2 separate regions of the Homo sapiens genome follow, and region 2 is linked to region 1. The links are contacts of gene promoters, found by promoter capture Hi-C in human tissues and cell types (Jung and others, 2019). All regions are on one chromosome and are shown on one strand. The core of a region is centred on a gene start or on the middle of the fragment in contact, and the rest is flanking DNA. Distances in the headings are between cores, read along the strand shown.

Evidence for each region. The method cuts DNA at HindIII sites, captures the fragments that hold promoters and counts their contacts. A contact is called where the count stands out against the background at its distance.
Region 2: a fragment that was not itself captured here is called in contact with the fragment with the promoter of RLN2 in region 1 in 1 of the 25 tissues and cell types used here (heart left ventricle).

The regions. Positions count from the first base shown.
Region 1 is chr9:5,303,308-5,306,007 of GRCh38, forward strand. RLN2 (relaxin 2) reads right to left here and starts at 1,409. Exons shown (of 2, transcript NM_134441.3): 1 at 1,063-1,409. The coding sequence starts at 1,273. RefSeq lists an enhancer at 1,285-1,334. The HindIII fragment of the contact is 20,018 bases long and covers 1-2,700 here.
Region 2 is chr9:5,170,483-5,173,182 of GRCh38, forward strand. All of the region lies in intron 1 of INSL6 (insulin like 6), which reads right to left. Among named protein-coding and RNA genes, the nearest start is that of INSL6, 14 kb to the right of the region's middle. The HindIII fragment of the contact is 3,731 bases long and covers 1-2,700 here.

The DNA of each region.
Region 1 (2,700 bases), core at 159-2,658:
GTTTATCATAAATTACATGTCATACTAATACAAAACACTTAGTATTTGCAACTGCGGTTACTTTCTCTGAATTTAATATGACCCGTTACACTTCTTAGACTAGTATATACCTCCATGAGTTTCCACTGCTACTTTATAAATACTAAAATATTTTTAAAAGCCATTTCAGATTGAGCTGTACTCAACTCTAAGAGCTTGCCTTTAAAGCAAACCCACTGCAGCTTCCAAATGCTTGAAAGCATCAGTAGGGTCTTCAGCTATGATGGTCTGAACGGCCTGCTTTCCTTGTCTCTGGTCCTCTTGAGTTTCTCCTAAAGGCATTCAAGCCTTTCCTTTCTCTTCCATCCCCTGCCTCACAAATGAACTTCAATACCCAGATCAAAGAAGCGGGAGGTCAGACTCTTTCCTTTGGGATTTTCTGTTTGTTTATTTTAAAGAACGTTTCCAATGGCAAAGGCCACAGCCCAACTTCTGGACTAGGAGAGTCATTAAGTGTAAGGCCCTTCCTGTCTTCCCATCACGGGACCCTCACAGAGACCTCAGAGTGTTGCCCCGTCCTACAGGCGCGCAAACAGGCTTGATAACTAGCGCGCCGCCTCAGTGTTTGTCCCCTCTCCTCTCTATCCGAGAAGCCCTGTTCAGGTGCCCCCACCAGCACGCCCGCTGTCTGGCCGCCTGGCTTTCCTGTGGGGTGCAGGAGTGCGCCCGGCCTCCTGCGGGTCTCCGGGCGGCGTCACCTCCTCTGAGGCTTCCCCTCCCTTTCCACCCCGTCGCTCTGACTGCCTTACGGAAAGGGCACCAAGGAACTCTCGGGTGAAGCAGCTTCCTGTTCTCAGTGCTTTCCCTCCGTCCGGTGAGATTCCCAGTGAGACTGTTTGAATAAAATCACCTGGCAAAGGAAAAGCCCAAACTTTAGGGACCAGCCACGGCTGAGTAGGGGCTGAGCGGTGGCAGCCAATGAGATCTCGAGTCGGACGTGCAGGCCGCCGTTCCAATTGGGCGGCCGCCCCAGAGTAACCAATGGGAAGCGCGGGAAGGCCGGGAGGGGGCGGGAGCTCTCACCTGCCACTGGTCTAGGTGTCTGAGGAGCATCTTCCTGGCTCAGAGACCTTTTGCTCCAGGTGCTCATGCCGCAAATGGCAATCTGCGCGCGAACTAATTCGCGGCCGCATAATTTAATAACTTCCTCCATCCATGAGTCCGCGACTGCTCTGGAAAATTGGTTCAGTAGTAAACAGACTCCTAGCAGGTGGAAAAAAAACAGGCGAGGCATCCTGGGCCTGGTCTCTCCTGGAGGTCGGGACGTTGCAGCCTTTCAGGACTGCAGCTGCTGTGGCCTACACACCTGGGCCTGTGTGCCTGTCCCGGGCTTTAGGCTGCTTTCCCTACCCGGCTCAAGCGGTCTTTTGTATCCCTTGGGCTATCACTCAGCTTTTAAGGCAAGGGTGCCAGCTCCACCCCTTTCCCACACCCCTCCACAGAATTTTCCCCCTCAGCTCTTGGTCTCCCTCTCTGCCTTTCCTTCATTTGCCCATCCCTCTGTCCTTGGCCCTTTTACAGTTGTGTTCTTCTCATTCATTACCCTCAAACAATTTAGTATACTGAGGTAAAGTCATTTTAGATATGAAGCCTTTCCTTTTACACACACAGAAACAAATTTGAGATCACCCATATTCTTACAACTCAGTTTTCTAGAGTGAACATTTGCCAAAAAACCCTTCTAACCTAAATAAGATTATAGATTATCTTGTAAATTGGGTTAATTAGTATAGTGTTGGGTATATCAATCCATAAAAATATAAAAATAGAATGGATGAATAAATAAATTGTTGATGACAGGGAAAACTGATGACTTTTAATCTGAATGCAGGTAAAAACATTAAAATCCCCAGTAACATCATGTTAGGCTTGTGCAGTAATGTCTTTAATTTACAAAACAATTTCTCCATTGCACTTTCCTTCCACTCTTGGGGATAAATTTGATTGTAACTAGTTATCTGAACATTTTAATTTAAAATTCTAATCTACATCTCTGGAGACTGGAGAACATACCACACACACACACACACACACACACACACACACACACACACACAGAGAGAGAGAGAGAGAGAGAGAGAAGAAAAAAAAGCAGTGGAAATCCCACAATCCCACAAAGAATATTTTGGTAACAAATTACAGCACAAAGATATGTTTGTTTGTTTACTGTATTTTGTGTTTGCTGCACCTGGTAAGAGGTGATTTTTTACCATCATTTAATTTAACTTTCTAAAGATCCACACTGTTCTAGGTAATATGGTTAGTAGACAACCCTTCTACCTGTAAATTTTTAGTACAAGTAGGTTCATTTTTTAAAATAACTTACTTGCTTGTGTTCATAATATACTCAGATTAGTTCAGCTCCATCAGATAAACTGGAGACATGCAGGACATTAGGGTAGCTTTGAAATAAAAGAATAACAATCTCTTAGTTACAAACATAACTATGGAATCAAATAATTCTAATTTCTAGATTGCTGGTGATGTCAGTAGGCCCACTTAGCATTGGTCAAATGCCAAGCAATGTGTAATTCTTCAAAAAATACCTGACCAAGACTATGAGATGGTCAGATGCAATCAATGCTTTTAAATGAGTTTTCATTAAAACACGCAGTTTGAGAGAGGCCTCTCAAAACTGAGGTTTGAAAACATTTTTGTGGG
Region 2 (2,700 bases), core at 16-2,515, 130 kb before region 1:
AACCAAGCTTAGAGCAGAACTGAAGGAGACCAGAGACACGAAAAACCCTTCAAACAATCAATGAATCCAGGGGCTTTTTTTTTTTTTGGAAAAACTAATAAAATAGACCACTAGGTAGGCTAATAAAGAAATGAAAGAAGAATCAAATAGACACAATAAAAAGGATAAAGGGGATATCACCACTGACCCCACAGAAATACAAACAACCATCAGATAATACTATAAACACCTCTATACCAATAAACCGGAAAATCTAGACACAATGGATAAATTCCTGAACACATACACCCCCACAAGACTAAACCAGGAAGAAGTTGAATCCCTGAATAGACTAATAACAAGTTCTGAAATTGAGGCAGTAATAAATAGTCTACCAACCAAAAAAAGCCCAGGACCAGATGGATTCACAGCTGAATTCTACCAAAAGTACAAAGAGGAGCTGATATTCTTTCTTCTGAAACTATTCCAAACAATCAAAAAGGAGGAACTCCTCCCTAACTCATTCTATGAGGCCAGCATCATCCTGATACCAAAACCTGACAGATACAACAACAAAAAAACTTCAGGCCAATATTCCTGAAGTACACCAATGTAAAAATCCTCAATAAAATACTGGCAAACCAAATACAGCAGCACATCAAAAAGCTTATCTGCCACGATCAAGTTGGCTTCATGTCCAGGGTGCAAGGGTGGTTCAAAATATACAAAATCAATAAATGTAATTAATCACATAAACATATCTAAAGACAAAAACCACAAGATTATTTCAATAGATGCAGAAAAGATCTTCCATAAAATTCAACATCCCTTCATGTTAAAAACTCTCAATAAATCAGGTGTTGATGGAGCATACCTCAAAATAATAGCCATTTATGACAAACCCACGGCCAAATATCATACTGAATGGGTAAAGCTGGATTCATTCCCTTGAAAACTGGCCCAAGTTAAGGATGCCCTCTCATCACTCCTATTCAACATAGTATCTGAAGTCCTGGCCAAGGCAATCGGGCAAGAGAAAGAAATAAAGGGTATTCAAATAGGAAGAGAGGAAGCCAAATTGTCTTTGTTTGCAGATGACATGCAAACATAGACACCCCATCTAGAACACACCATCATCTCTGCTCAAAAGCTTCTTAAGCTGATAAGCAAATTCAGCAAAGTCTCAAGATACAAAATCAACGTGCAAAGGTCACACACATTCCTGTATACCAAGAACAAGAAAGCAGAGAGCTGAATTATGAATGAACTCCTATTCACAATTGCTACAAAGAGAATATACCTATGAATACAGTTAGCGAGGAACATGAAGGACCTCTTCAAGGAGAACTACAAACCACTGCTCAAGGAAATAAGGGAGAACACAAACAAAAAAAAATTCCATGTTCATGGATAGGAAGAATCAATATCGTGAAAATGGCCATCCTGCCCAAAGTAATTTATAGTTTCAATGCTATTCCCATCTAACTACCATCGACATTCTTCACAGAACTAGAAGAAACTATTTAAAAAGTCGTATGGAACCAAAAGAGCTCAAACAGCCAAGACAATCCTAAGCAAAAAGAACAAAGCTGAAGGGAGGCATCACACTACTGGACTTCAAACTATACTACAAGGGTACAGTAACCAAAACAGCATGGTACTGTTACAAAAACAGACACCTAAACCAATAGAATTTCTGTTCCAGAACTCAGAAATAAGACCGCACATCTATGACCATCTGATCTTGGACAAACGTGACAAAAAATAGCAATGGGCAAAGGATCCGCTATTTAATAAATGGTGCTGGGAGAACTGGACCACTTCCCTACACCTTATAGAAAAATTAACTCAAGCTGAATTAAAGACTTAACTGTAAAACCAAAACTATAAAAACCCTAGAAGAAGATCTAGGCAATGCTATTCACAACATAGGTATGGGCAAAGATTTCAGGACAAAATCACCAAAAGCAATTGCAACAAAAGCCCAAATTGACAAATAAGATCTAATTAAACTAAAGAACTTCTGCACAGCAAAAGAAACTACCATCAGAGTGAACAGACAACCTACAGAGTGGGAGGAAATTTTTGCAATCTATCCATTTAACGAAGGTCTAATATCCAGAATCTACAAGGAACTTAAACAAATTTACAAGAAAAAACAAACAATCCGCTTAAAGAGTGGCCAGGCCAGGTGCAGTGGCTCACGCCTGTAATCCCAGCACTTTGGGAGGCCGAGGTGGGCAGATACCTGAGGTCAGGAATTCGAGACCAGTCTGGCCAATGTAGTGAAACCCTGCCTCTTCTAAAAGTACAAAAATTAGCTGGGCGTGGTGGTGTGTGCCTGTAGTCCCAGGTACTCGAGAGGCTGAGGCAGGAGAATTGCTTGAACCCAGGAGGCAGAGGCTGCAGTGAGCCGAGATCATGCCATTGCACTCTAGCCTGGGTGACAAAGCAAGACTCCACCTCAAAAGAAAAAAAAAAAGAGTGGGCAAAGGACATGAAAAGACATTTCTTAAAAGAAGGCATTCATGCAGCCAACAGACATTTGAAAAAAAAGCTCAACATCAATGATCATTAGAGAAATGCAAATCAAAATTACAATGAGATACTATCTCACGACAGTCAGAATAGCAATTATTACAAAGTCAAGAAACAACAGATGCTTTTGAGGTTGCAGAGAAATAGGAACTAATTCCTACTGTTGGTGGGAATGTAAATTAG